Regions from separate parts of the Homo sapiens genome. Here regions 2, 3, 4 and 5 are each linked to region 1. The links are contacts of gene promoters, found by promoter capture Hi-C in blood cells and fetal thymus (Javierre and others, 2016). All regions are on one chromosome and are shown on one strand. Each heading gives the region's core, a stretch centred on a gene start or on the middle of the fragment in contact. The rest is flanking DNA. Distances are from core to core; before and after follow the strand shown.

The links. The method cuts DNA at HindIII sites, captures the fragments that hold promoters and counts their contacts. A CHiCAGO score of 5 or more calls a contact.
Region 2: a fragment that was not itself captured here is called in contact with the fragment with the promoter of MAK16 in region 1 in 1 of 17 cell types (M0 macrophages); the score reaches 6.6 in M0 macrophages.
Region 3: a contact is called between a fragment that was not itself captured here and the fragment with the promoter of MAK16 in region 1, in 1 of 17 cell types (naive CD8 T cells). The highest score is 6.2, in naive CD8 T cells.
Region 4: the fragment with the promoter of TM2D2 here is called in contact with the fragment with the promoter of MAK16 in region 1 in 3 of 17 cell types (monocytes, total CD8 T cells and non-activated CD4 T cells); the score reaches 6.0 in monocytes.
Region 5: a contact is called between a fragment that was not itself captured here and the fragment with the promoter of MAK16 in region 1, in 1 of 17 cell types (total CD4 T cells). The highest score is 6.2, in total CD4 T cells.

What each region holds. Positions count from the first base shown.
Region 1 is chr8:33,483,774-33,486,532 of GRCh38, forward strand. It overlaps MAK16 (MAK16 homolog), which reads left to right and starts at 1,409. Exons shown (of 10, transcript NM_032509.4): 1 at 1,409-1,448. The coding sequence starts at 1,434. RefSeq lists enhancers at 565-1,201, 1,189-1,338 and silencers at 829-1,018, 1,229-1,416. The HindIII fragment of the contact is 3,746 bases long and covers 1-2,759 here.
Region 2 is chr8:39,045,856-39,048,555 of GRCh38, forward strand. All of the region lies in intron 12 of ADAM9 (ADAM metallopeptidase domain 9), which reads left to right. Among named protein-coding and RNA genes, the nearest start is that of SNORD38D, 29 kb to the left of the region's middle. The HindIII fragment of the contact is 1,364 bases long and covers 697-2,060 here.
Region 3 is chr8:38,774,221-38,777,027 of GRCh38, forward strand. It overlaps a transcript of TACC1 not described here. Among named protein-coding and RNA genes, the nearest start is that of TACC1, 12 kb to the right of the region's middle. The HindIII fragment of the contact is 2,473 bases long and covers 172-2,644 here.
Region 4 is chr8:38,995,059-38,997,804 of GRCh38, forward strand. It overlaps TM2D2 (TM2 domain containing 2), which reads right to left and starts at 1,451. Exons shown (of 4, transcript NM_078473.3): 1 at 1,155-1,451; 2 at 260-347. The coding sequence starts at 1,381. ADAM9 (ADAM metallopeptidase domain 9) reads left to right here and starts at 1,915. Exons shown (of 22, transcript NM_003816.3): 1 at 1,915-2,102. The coding sequence starts at 2,006. RefSeq lists enhancers at 579-1,101, 1,102-1,623, 1,232-1,421, 1,582-1,681, 1,742-1,791 and 1 more and a silencer at 2,122-2,551. The HindIII fragment of the contact is 5,467 bases long and covers 1-2,746 here.
Region 5 is chr8:38,793,373-38,796,072 of GRCh38, forward strand. The region is part of intron 2 of TACC1 (transforming acidic coiled-coil containing protein 1); the gene reads left to right. Among named protein-coding and RNA genes, the nearest start is that of TACC1, 7.5 kb to the left of the region's middle. RefSeq lists an enhancer at 599-893. The HindIII fragment of the contact is 342 bases long and covers 1,273-1,614 here.

The DNA.
Region 1 (2,759 bases), core at 159-2,658:
GACCATATAGAGTAATTTCCTGATGTTGCCATGGCATTTGTGGCGCCAGTGGGAGTGTAGCAGTGAGGACGACCAGAGGTCAAACTCATTGCCATCTTGGTTTTGTGGGTCTTGACTGGCTTCTTTACTGCAATCTGTTTTATCAGCAACATCCTTATGACCTGTATTTTGTGCTGACCTCATCCTGTGATTTAGATGGCCTGACCCTCGGGAATGCAGCCTAGCAGATCTCAGCCTTATTTTACCCAGCCACTATTCAAGATGGGGTTGCTCTGGTTCAAATGCCTCTTGACAGTCTTTCTTTCCTTTTCTTTTTTCTTTTTCTTTTTTTTTTTTTGAGAGGTAGTTTTGGTTGTCACCCAGGCTGGAGGGCCACAGCATGATCTCGGCTCACTGCAACCTCCGCCTCCCGGGTTCAAGCGATTCTCCTGCCTCAGCCTCCCAAGTAGCTGGGATTACAGGCACCTGCTACCACGCCCGACTAATTTTTGTATTTTTAGTAGAGACGGGATTTCACTATGTTGGCCAGGCTGGTCTGGAACTCGCCCGCCTAGGCCGCCCAAAGTGCTGAGGTACAGGCGAGAGCCACCGCGCCCGGCCCGGCCGACAGTCTTTCTTCTATAATACGATACAAACTAGTAAAGATTTTCTTTTTCCCCTGGCGGAAAAGAGCTGTTAGGCTTCCAGATTTGTTTTTGTGGGTTATTAGACCTCTACTTTTCTTCTTGGTATTTTCCCTCCCTTATCAACTTTGTTTGTTGTCTCAAATAGGCAATGAGGAAGACACAGGTGTTTATTATTATTGGAATGCTCTTTCCATTTGGTCAGTGGTTTCTCAAAGCAGGAGGAATTCAAGTTCTGAGTTTCTAAAGTCAGGACCCGGTGCCGCACCCAACGTGGGCGTGGGGAGTGGCTAAGTCAGGGTCTGAGGGGCAGGGCCGGGGCCTGGCTGCGAGCTGGGGCCGGGGGACTCGGAGGAGCGGGGACCCAGCCCCGCCGCGCCGCCTGCAGCTTTCCCCAGCCTCCTCCCAGCAGAGGGGAGGCCCGACAGGGAGGGGTCCCATCCTCATGAACGGTCACAAACAGGGCGCTAGGGAAGCACGCCCGACCCCCGCGGTCCCCGCGCTCCAGGATTCGGCAGACTGCGCGCGTCCTGCCTCCCGCGGATCGCACTGGGTCCCAACAGGGTTCCCAGCTCCAGGCTGCGCCCATGAACAAGCCCAGCATTGCGGACGGGCGCGCGCAGACGCCAGCGTGGTGAAGACGCGGGGGCGCGCGCGCGGCGACGAGACTGCCAGGGGACGCTTCGCAACACCGAGAGTCTCAGCGTTTCTCGAGATAGGTGAGGCTGCGCGTTCCGGAACTGGTTTCCCGGAAGGAGCATGTCTGCGCCCGCGATCCGACCGGAAGTTGCACGCTGAGCCGCGGACACCATGCAGTCGGATGATGTGAGTCTCCTCCGGTTGTTCTTACACCCGGGGTTTGCGCAGGGAATTTTGCCCATTTTCGGACACTTAGAAAACGCGTACGCAGCGGGTCTGTTGCCTCGTGCCGCTCTGGATGTGAGGCTTCCGGAACCCCGATTTTCCAACATAGGTTCTCACGCGTGTCTAGCAGGGGTTTACTGCCCGCTGCCCCGGCCGGGTTGTGAGCACAGGACTCCGTCACCTCAGCCCATGGGGTCGATGTGTCCCGTCCTTCGTGCCTACCAATGCAGGACGTCGCGTCATGCTGTCAGCTGTCAGCTGTCAGCTCCGGACTTGGGGTGGGGGGCGGCCCGGGATTTGGCGAAGCTGACTCCAAGTTTAAGCGTCCTTCTCATCCATGTGCGCGTTACTCTTCCATCTGCGTTTCCTGTGTAGGCTTTTCTTTACATTTGCTCTACTTCTGCCTAAGTCATAATTTCGGAAGTATCCTAGATTCATTCATTGAGTTTTTTGTTGGAGAAATAACAGTGTGCTTACAGTGTGCCAGGCATTGTGGTAATTATTGAGGATTTGGTTAACCAGAAAAAATGTCCCACCTCTCCTGGAACACTGATGGGGGAGACACAGTAAACAAGTGAACAAATAAGTTAACAATTACACTATATAATCATACTATGAAAGAAAGACCAGAGATGATGAAGGACACTTCAGATAGGGTTACTCAGGGAAGGTTTCTCTGAACAGAAGATGTTTGAGTTGAGATCTAAAAGATAAGAATAAGCCAGTCACTGAGGAGCTGAGGAAAAAGCAATCCAGGCAGTAGGAACAGTAAAGTACAAAGAGTTGAAGATATGAGAGAATGAATATAAGGGTCATCAAAGTGACAATGTAAGACAGGTAATGAAATTAGATATGCTTGCCAGGGCGAGGTCATGCAGAATCTTGTAGGAAGTGTTTTTTAGGCCTTTTAATGATCTATGTTTGTGAAAAGTTGTCTAGTTGCTGTGTGAAGGACTTTTGGAGGGAAAAAATGAAAGCAAGGAGACTAGGGTATGACAAAGGTTGCTTCAAGCCAGACACAGTGGCTCATGCCTGTAATCCCAACGCTTTGGGAGGCTGGGGCTGGAGGATCGCTTGAGGCCAGGAGTTCGATTCCAGCCTAGGCAATAAAGTGAGACTCCATCTCTACAAAAAATAAAAAATTAGCTGGGCGCGGTGGTGTTCGCCTGAGGTCCCAGTTACTTCGAAGGCTGAGGCAGAAGGACTACTTGAGCCGAAAAGTCCGAGGCTGCAGTGAGCTATGATGGCACCACTGCACTCCAGCCTGGGTGA
Region 2 (2,700 bases), core at 129-2,628, 5.6 Mb after region 1:
TCTGCATCTGCACCAAGATCAGCCTTTTTTTTTTTGACTTTTTAATGATAGCCATTCTGACTATTGTAAGATGATATCTCATTGTGGTTTTAATATGCATTCTCTGATTTTCAATGATGTTGAGCATTTTTTCCTGTGTTTGGCAGCTGCTTGTATTTCTTCTTCTGAGGAATGGATTTTATTGAATCTGCAGATCACTTTGGGTAATATGGACAATTTACCAATTTTAATTATTCCAATCCATGAACATAGGATGTCTTTCCATTTATTTGTATCATCTTTTATTTCTTTTAGCAATGTTTTGTAAGTTTTTAGTGTGTGATCTTTTTCCTCACTTGTTAAGCTTATTCACAAATGTTTTGTTTTCAATGCTATTGTAAATAGCTTTGTTTCCTTAATTTCCTTTTTGTAGTTCATTGTTAGTATGTGAAAATGACCTTATTTTTGTGTGTCAGTTTTGTTTCCTGCAACTTTACTGAATTTATTTATTAGTTATAACAAGTTTTTTGATGGACTCTTTGGGATTTTCTATATGTATGATCATGTCATCTTAAAAGAGGGACAGTTTTGCTTCATTTCCGATTTAGATGCCTTTTAGTTTTTCTTGCTAATTGTTCTGGCTAGGACTTCCAATACTAAGTTGAATAGAAGTGGCGAGATTGGGCATCCTTGCTTCATTTCTGATCTCAGAGGAAAAGCTTTTTGTTTTTCACAACTAGGTATGATTTTAGCTATGGGAATTTCATATATGGCCTAATTATGTTGAAGTTATTTTCCTTTATTTCTAGTTTGTTGAGAGCTTTTTGCATGAAAGGGTGTAGAATTTTATCAAGTGCTTTTTCTGTATCTATTGAGATGATCATGCTATTTTTATCCTTCATTTTGTTAATGTGGTATATCTCATTATTTAATTAATTAAATTTTTTTTTTTTTGAGACAGGGTCTTACTGTTGCCCAGGCTGGACTGCAGTGCTGTGAACACAGCTCACTGCAGCTTTGACCTAATGGGCCCAAGTGATCCTCGTGCCTCAGCCTCTTGAGTAGTCGGGACTACAGGCATATGCCACCATGCCTCACACATTTTTGTATGTTTTGTAGAGAAGGGGTTTTGCTACATTGCCTAGACTGGTCTCGAACTCCTGGACTCAAGCAGTCTGCCTGCGTAAGACGCCCAGAGTGCTGGGATTACAGGTGTGCACCACTGCACCTGATCTCATTAATTGATTTTTGTATATTGAGCCTTAATTGATTTTTGTATATTGAGCCATCCCAATTTATACCCAAGGATAAATTCTACTAGGTCATGTTGTATTTTACTTTTAATGTGCTGCTGAATTTGGTTTGCTAGTATTTTGTTGAGGATTTTGCATCTGTATTTGTTTGGCACATTGGCCTGTAGTTTTCTATATTTGGCATATTGGCCTTGGTGATACAGTCTGCATCAGGATAATGCTGGCCTCATAAAATGAGTGGAATTTTCTCCTCCTCCTCTATTTTTTGGGTGAATTTTTAGAATGATTGGCATTAGTTCTTTAAATGTTTGGTAGATTTCACCAGTAAAGCCATTGGTCCTGTGCTTTTCTTTGCTAGGAGGTTTTTGATTACTGATTCATATCCTTACTACTTATAGGTCTGTTCAGACTTATTTCTTTATGATTCAGTCTTGGTGGGATGTGTGTTTCTAGGAATTTATCCGTTTCTTTTAGGTGATCCAGTTTGTTGATGTGTAAATGTTTATAGTAGTCTTTTATAATTCTTTTTATTTATGGCATCAGTTGAAATGTCTCCTTTCTCATTTCTGATTTTGAGTCTTCTCTTTCTTTTTCTTAGTGTAGCTAAGATTGGTTAATATTGCTTATCTTTTGAAAAATACTAACTCTTGGTTTTGCTGATTTTTCAATTCTTTTTCTAGTCTCAATTTTGTTTATTTCTGATCTGAAGTTCATTATTTCCCTTATGATAATTTTGGGTTTAAATTTTCTGTTGCTTTTCAGATTTCTTGGGTTGTAAAGTTAGGTTGTTTATTTGAGTTTTTTTTTTTAATATAGGTTATCACAGCAAGCTTTCCTTGTATTTTTTTTTTTTGACAGAGTCTCACTGTGTTGTCCAGGCTGGAGTGTAGTGGGGCAATCTTGGCTCATTGCAACCTCCACCTCCTGGTTTCTAGTGATTCTTGTGCCTCAGCCTCCTCAGTAGCTAGGATTACAGGCGCGCACCACCATGCCTAGCTAATTTTTGTATTTTTAGTAGAGATGGGGTTTCGCCATGTTGGCCAGGCTGGTCTCGATCTCCTGATCTCAGGTGATCTACCCGCCTTGGTCTGGGATTACAGGCGTGAGCCACCACATCTGTCCTCCTTTTAGTATTATTTTTGTTTTATTTCATAAGTTTTTACATATTGTGTTTTTTGTTTGTCCAAAAGTATTTTTTAATCTTGTGTTTGATTTCCTTTTTGACCCAATGGTTGTTCCACAGTGTGTTGTTTAATTTCCACATATTGGTGAATTTTCCATTTTCCTTTCTGCTTTTATTGTTGTCTTTTTCTATTCTAATTGCTAGTTTCATCCATTTTGGTCAGAAAATATATTTGGTATGATTTCAGTCTTCTTAAATTTCTGAAGACCTGTTTTGTGACCTAAAATGTGAGCCTGGAGAGAGTTCCATGTGTGCCTGAGAATAGTATGTATTCTGCCACTGTTG
Region 3 (2,807 bases), core at 158-2,657, 5.3 Mb after region 1:
TGCCGTCCACCAGCCATTCTCAGAGCCCCCTGCAGTTCTTATATTTCATACATGACAATTTATATATTACATATTTATTTGTTGGCTTACTAAGCTCACTAATATGCAAGTTCTATGAGGGCAGGAACTGGGTCTCTTTTGTTCAACACAGTGTTCAGCAGAGGCTGGCAAAGCTTGGTCATTTGTCAAATTTGTGGAATGAATGAATGAATGAATGAATGAATGAACATATGTATTATTTTGCCTTAAACACTAAAGGTATTTAAAAATACATTTTTTATTATTGTTTTGAGACAGAGTCTCACTCTATAGCCCAGGCTGAAGTGCAGTGGTAGCATCACAGCTCACTGCAACCTTGAATTCCTGGGCTCAAATGATCCTCCCATCTTGGCCTCCCAAGTAGCTAGGACTACAGGTGTGCATTGCCACACCAGGCTAATTTTTTTTTGTTTTTGTTTTTGAAGGGATGGGGTCTCACTATGTTGCCTAGGCTATAAAAATATTTTTAAAGGCCAGCCACGGTGGCTCACGCCTGTAATCCCAGCACTTTGGGAGGCCGAGGCGGGCGGATCACGAGGTCAGGAGTTCGAGACCAGCCTGTCCAACATGGTGAAACCCCCTCTCTACTAAAAATACAAAAATTAGCTGGGCATGGTGGCACATGCATGTAATCCCAGCTACTCGGGAGGCTGAAGCAGGAGAATCGCTTGAACCCCAGAGGCAGAGGTTGCAGTGAGCGAAGATCGCACCACTGCACTCCAGCCTGGGTGACACGGTGAGACTCCGTCTCAAAAAAAAAAAAAAAAAAATGAAAACCAAAAACTTTTAAAACAAAGTACAAGACTATTTGTATGTATTTGCTTTATAAAACAATTTACAGTGCCTTTTAAAATGAGGTGAATTTTGGGGAGAAGTCATATCTCTATTATACATACCAAGTGGGCATATCTTTTGGGGCTGGGGGGAAACTCCAGAATTCATACCTTCATACCTTCCTTGCAAGGGTTATGAATCCTAGTTGTGCACTTTGGTGCCTGAGTAAACCTTCTTCCAAAAAGAATGATATTCGACCCAGTGATCTTTGGCAAAGGTCCTTTCCAGCTAAAAATTTCTGTGGTTCTATGAGATCTGAGATGGATGCTTAGGTTAGGAGTCAGTGATTATCTTAGTCTGTTAAGGCTACTATAAGGATATAATTGCCTGGGTGGTTTATAAACCAGTCATTTATTTCTGGAAGTTCTGGAGGATGGAGGTCCCCATGATTAAGGGACCAGCAGATTCCACATCTGGTGAAGGCTGACCTCCTGGATGTCTTCTCCCTGTGTCCTCATTTGGCAGAAGAAGGGAGAGGGAGCTGTCTGGGGTCTCTTTTATAAGGGCGCTGACCCCAGGAAGAACCCTCATGACCTAATCACCTCCCAAAGGCCCCACTTCTTAATATTCTCACATTGGAGTTTAGGTTTTAACCTATGAATTTTGGGGGGATATAAACAGTCAGTCTGTAGCAGTGATTTATCATTTGTTCAGAAAATAATGTAAAACAAATATATTCTGCTCAGTGTCTATGCCTTGGCCAAAGGAAACAGAAAACACATAAGATATTCCTATATCATACATGATGAGGTACAGGGAAGACCGGTAAGGATAAACTCGCTCTTGCTTGTCATAGTTCTATAAAATAATACAACAAAATAACTTGACTAATTGAGCCCATAAGAAAACAATTTCTAAAAATATTTTGTGTGTGTGCTAGAAATCGTCACTAGCACCAGTTAGTGTTGAAGCCAAAGAACAATGATTAATTCACTTATAGGATTTGGGTCAGTTATTATTTATTATTGTTATTATTTATCCTTAGAATTGGGCAAATATTGGAGTTATACAATCATATTATTTCAAGGAAATCTCCCCAAAGAAAATAATAACCTTCATCAATATGTAAATCCATTCTACTTGGCCTTTGTGAAATCTAAATATTGACTCCCTCCTTCTTCAACGTTTTTGTCCACATCAGTCATCTTTAAAAATGCAACTGCCTAATTTCTAGAAAGTCAGTATCACAGCTCAAGTCATTACGGCAGAAGGAAGGGTAGTCTCAGTCCTGTTTTTAGGATAATTAGGACATCATCCACGGGGCAGGCTTGAGTCTTTTGGTTCGGGAATTTTCTGCCCTGAGAAAAGACATCATTGAGATACAGGTAGAGTGTTCCTTATCCAAAATGCTTAGGACCAGAAGTGTTTCAGATTTTAGATTTTGGAATATTTGCATATACATAATGAGATAGCTTGGGGATGGGACCCAAGTCTAAACATGAGATTCATTATGTTTCATATACACCTTCTACACATAGCCTGAAGGTAATTTTAAACAGCAGTTGTAATAATTTTGTGCATGAAACAAAGTTTTGACTGTGTTTTGACTGTGACTGGCCACATGAAATTAGGTGTGGAATTTTCCACTGTGGTGTCATGTTGACAAGCAAAACGTTTTGGATTTTAGATTGTTGGATTAGGGATGCTCAACCTGTGTAGATTTATCATTTTTAAAAATGCTTCCATCTTTGAAGGAACTTTCATGTAATCCTGTTCAGAAGAATGTAGAACGAAATTTAAGGCAGGTTCTTCCCATACCTTCATCTAAGGAAGCTTAGATGCTGAAATCCCCCAGAGGAGGTTGTAATGTGAGGGTGGAGATGAGGCTGCTGTTACAAAGGGGCCCAGTGACACAGTCTGATAAAGAAGATAGACTTTTAGGCTGGGCACGGTGGCTCACGCCTGTAATTCCAGCACTTTGGGAGGCTGAGGCA
Region 4 (2,746 bases), core at 201-2,700, 5.5 Mb after region 1:
AATCTGTCAGTGGCCAAAGGAACCAAAGACAGGTTGGTCTTTGCACCTGGGTGGTTTTAGCACAGAGATTGCTCCTTCATAAGGAAACCAAATATCTTGTTCAGTCACTGACCCTGGCCATACTGGAAATTTCCAGTAACGGTCTTTCTGAGGAAATTCTTCAAAAAACTTTGTACCTCTTATACTTTTATGTAATAGCATTCAGACATTCCTATTTCGTTATCGAAGGGTTTGCTCTTACGACAAAACAAAAACTCACCTTGAGACAACCATAACCAAGTTCCTGGGATGCAGTTGCATTTCCAACATGATCCACTGGGTCTTCACATTCTATAAATTCATCAGGTCTGTAATTCACCAGTAAGATCATGATCATCATCATACGGTCTTTGCAAATCGCTGTTTGCATGCACGTAATCAAAACGGGCAAAAGACATTTCTTCATCAAGTTTTCTGGGGTTCGGTTTCACCCTGCTGACCCCTTTCCAAGCCAATTAAACTGAAGCACAGCAGGTCAAACGGACAGCCACCAAAATGAACCTTTTGTTGGAGAAGGGAGGTGTTTCTGGTCCTGTTTCTATAAGGATTCTACTTCTGCCATGGTTTCATCTCTTCAGTAGGCAAACAACAAGATTCTGGGGGCAAAATTTAAGCCAAAGTATTCTCAGTCCTCTTTGCATTTCCCAAATGCCTTTTCTTGTTTGATCAAAAAGAGATGTTAAAAAATGGCGTGATTCTGCAACGGTAAGAATATTGATTGCTTTTTTAAAAGATGCCTTGTAGGCAGAGACAAGTCATTTACTCCATTTATGCCTTACTCAGTACTGGCACCGAATCGACCGACTAATACTCTCCTTGGGCTAAAGGGCGCAGGGCAAAGAAAGCACAACCTTACGCCCTTCTTCCAGAGGCTATATGATGTTACTCCTACCCAGTTTTCCTCTTTGGGGATCTCAAAGCCTCTGTCACTGACACACAAGAGTTTTCTCTGCACGGGCTGTGAGAAACCTGGTTCATGATATTTGCCTCCGGAACGACCTCAGAGAGGCAGGGTCTGAAAAAATGCAGCGTCCCCCCAACCCTGCCTTCCCTTAACACCCATATATTCCTGGCACACCCTCCACGTCCACCCGCCTCGACCACTGGTAGCTTACAGGTAAGAGCAGAGGATGACCGGAGAGTGGGGGTCGCCATATTCCCAGCTCGCAGCACCCCCGGGGCCCTCCGGCTGGGCGGCGCCAGCGGATGTGAGCTCAGGCTCAGCGGTCGCATTTTGCGAGTGGCTCCGAGACACACAATGCAGCAGAAGTAAATTCCCCAGCAGCAAAGCCGCCTGGCCGCACAGAAGTAAGTAACTAACCGGGCAACCACCTAGCACCATCTTCCCGGGCACAGGAGCGGAGACCCGGCCTCAACCACAACCCCAGGCCAGCAGCACAGACCCAAGAACTGCGTGGTCAGGCCTTTCCGCGTAGCCCCGCCCGCGTAGCCCCGCCAAACAGCCAATGGACGCGCAGCTCGACGCTCCGCGCACCTCCGCCAACCAACTAGAAAAGGTCGAGCAGACGGGCGGGGCTACTCCGCCCTCTGCTTCTGCTTCTCGATTCCTCTTCTGGGTCTCATGCTCCTCCTTCTTTTGCGCCGAATGCGTTCTCCAATCGGATCCGTCGACCCCCCTAGGTGGGCGTGCCCGGCAGCCGACGGGGCGGGGCGGATATGACTGGCGGGCCGACTAGTGCTGGTTGCCACCGCCGGTTTAGAAATCCTATTCTCGCGCCGGGGACTGGATTTTTCCCTACGTCAGCGCAGCTAGGCGATGTCGGGAGCGAGCTCGGACCGAGGGCTCAGTTGCGTCAGTGCCGCGCGCGTGCTCGTCGGGCGCGCGTGCTCGTCGGGCGCGCGCGCTTCCCGGCCAGACTTGGGGCCCCGGCAGGGTTGGAAAATGATGGAAGAGGCGGAGGTGGAGGCGACCGAGTGCTGAGAGGAACCTGCGGAATCGGCCGAGATGGGGTCTGGCGCGCGCTTTCCCTCGGGGACCCTTCGTGTCCGGTGGTTGCTGTTGCTTGGCCTGGTGGGCCCAGTCCTCGGTGCGGCGCGGCCAGGTGGGTGTCCGCGCCCCGGGTCGGTTGGGACGGCTGCTTCCTAGGGACGGGGCGCTCGGAGTGAACCTGTGGTGCCTGGGAGTGGAGGGGCCCGGCCTGGGGATCGGACCCGGGGTCGGGGGGCGCGGCCGCTCCAGGTGTGTGCGGACCGGGGTCGCACCCGAGGCGCGGGGTTTGGCGCCCCAAGCCCTTCTTGGCCCGGGTCCTCTGCCCGGCACCGCTTCCTCCGTGTCCTGTTCGATGGAGCCGTTCCCAGCGTCCCCCCATCCCTCGCCGCCTCGCGCGACCCCGGGTCCCCCAGACGCCCCGAAACCCGCTCTGGGGCGGGCGCTGACCTCGGCGGGCCGGAGCCCTGCAGGCTGGGCGCGCCCGCGGGCGTTCAGTCCTCCAAACGCCTGCAGGGAGGGAGCTGGCTCTCGCTCGTGGAGTTAATGTCGCTTGGAAAGAGACTGAGAGATGAAACTTTTGCTGCAGGTTATAATTTGAAATTTTGACGTTCATGGTATCCTTGGGTCAACACAGCTAAATTTAATGGTGGAATAAAGGTGGGTGGGAGGACGCTCATTTCTCTTGGGTCATTTTTGTAGTAAGAATATTTTGTAAACGATGTGCTACCTTTCTATAGCCAAACCATTCTTAAAAAA
Region 5 (2,700 bases), core at 194-2,693, 5.3 Mb after region 1:
CTGAACAGAAGAATGAGTTTTACATTTTTTGATGGTTTAATGGTGATGTGTGAAAATAATGTGAAATCCAAATTTCAGGGCCCATCAATGGTCACACGATTATGTGAATTTACTAAAAACCATTGCATCATATATTTTAAAGGGTGGACTGTATGGTTTGTGAATTATATCTCAATAAAGTAGTTCTTAAAAAAAAACAAAACAAAATTTCAGGGCCCATCAAGTTATATATATATGAAATATATATTTTGGTAGATATGGGGTCTTGCTATGTTGCCCAGGCTGATCTTGAGCTCCAGGGCTCAAGTAAGTGATCCTCCCACCTCAGCCTCCCAAAATGCTGGGATTTCAGGTTTGAACCACCACTGTCATCCCCATAAATAAAGTTATTGGAATACAGCCATACTCATTCATTCATGTATTGTCTATGGCTGCTTTTGCTCTACAATAGCTGGGTTGAGTACTTGGAACAGAGACCAAATGTCTGGCAAAAGTCTAACATATTTACTATCTTGTACAGAAAAAAAATGTCAACCTACATCTATACTTATTACAATTTCAGTAAAAATACAGAGTTTAAGTAATTTGGGAAAATGGCTTTAAGAATGAAAAGGTGCAAGGTTATACCTGCTGAACAAATGAACTGTGGGCGTGAGGTGCCATTAGTCTAGGCCTGCATGTTCAGGGAAGGCCCAGGGGAGAGCCTGATGTGGCCTGGCTATTTGTCATATTTGCAAAGGGGAAGTGATGTAATTGGTCTGCAATGAACTTGATTTTCAATTGACTCAAAGATCTAAGGAGGAATAAAAATTATTTAAAAAGGAAATTAGGGAAGAATGGGGAGAATATTGGAATCATTTAATAGAAGTACAAACACATAGACTTTTAACTTTTGCCCATTAAATTTTTTTTAACATTTTATTTTCTTAAATTTTTTTTAAAAAAATAGTGATGGGGTTTCACTGTGTTGCCCAGGCTGGTCTCGAACTCCTGGGCTCAAGTGATCCTCCCACCTTGGCCTCCCAAAGTGTTGGGGTTACAGGCATGAGCCAGCCTCACCCAACCCATTAAATGTCTTTAATGTAACTTCGGGTGTATGAGAATTTGTAAGTTGACTGTGCAGATCTCTTAAAAGGTTGATATGGTGTATTTTTAGAATGTTTTAGACTGCACGTGTGTGTGTGTTTGTTTGTGTGTGTGTGTGTGTGCGTGCTATAGAAAACACAGCATGGAAACCTTGTTAAAATCAGAGGCTTTGATTTTTTATTCTAAAGCTTTGAGTTATATGTTTAATCAGATACTATGTGAAAAATTTTCATTAGGTACATATTGAAGTGTTCCATTCAAGTCTACAAGTATATCCTCCTAAGGATTTAGTTTAACATCCTTTCCCTGCTCCAACAAGGGAATGCTTTATTAGAGTTTCCTAGAAATAATGGGACTAATTAGGACCTTTCATATTACCTAGTCCAGCAGTCCAACCCATGTGGCTCCTTCAACAGCATCGCAGCCTAATGCTTTTAATTTAATTTTAAATTTTTAATGTTTTGCTGTGATTGCCTCTTCCACAGTTTGATTTTTTTGTACTGTATAATTCCATGTTAAGGTATTTAAAGCTTGAAAATCTTAGCATGATATAGCTACTTTGTTTTTTCATGTATTTTTAGCTCTGAAGTTGGAGATTCCAACCAGCTAATAAATGAGATCAGAGTCATGTGTTTTTTTGTTGTTGTTGCTCTATCACAATGTAAATGTGCCCCTAGGAAGCACCTGCTTCTATATGGTGCCTTACCCAAGGGAGTGTCTTCCTGGGGAAAAAAGTGTAGTTTTTCCAGCAGAAACTTGTGAGAGTGCAGAACCACAGAGGAGCAACAGTGTCTGAATAAAAAATTCCAGGGCAGGGAAGCAAAGTCTACCTGCAGAAAGGAAAGATTTTAGTAACTATCAAATCACAATTTTTCTTTTAAGATGAGTGACAAAATCAAGACCTTGCACTCCCCCATTTTGGGCTTACCCAAGCATCGAATAAAGCAGTAGAACTTACTTTGGTACTTGCGGGTGGCAGAGACACTTTCTACCTGTGTATGTGTTTTGGGAGCCGGCAGTCCTTCTAAAATTATATTGCTGCCATGTAATGTCCCACCTACAAAATGGATGTGGCCTAAAGCCATTTAAACATTTAAATGAAAGAGCAGTTGCAGTGTCTTTTTCAGGTTACCAGTTATACTGCCCAGAGGAAATCTTGGAGGGTATAAACCATTTTGTCACACTCTCCTAAATCCAGAGTAGCGATGGGAGATAATGGTTTATCCACCCAAAACAACCCTCTCAGTGGAGATTTCATAACCAAGGTTGCTAAATTGCCTGGTGACTATTAAATCTGGGCTTAGAAAGGCTTTGCTACTTGTGAGTTCAAGATCTCACCCTCACCTTTGCATGTACATGACCTAATTTTATGAGTTCAAACAAACATGATTAGATCCCCAGGGTTTAGATTGATGATGGCCAGACTCACAAGGGAATAATAATAATGGCATGGAGTATTTTATTAATTCACAAATGAAAAATGTATCTTGACAGTTTGGCAGATGCAGATACTCTCCTAGCCAGTCGAGGACCCTCTTTCTTATATCATAGCTGGAAATATGACAATAAATGATTGATCTCCAGCTTTCCCATTACAATATTCCCACCTAGCAG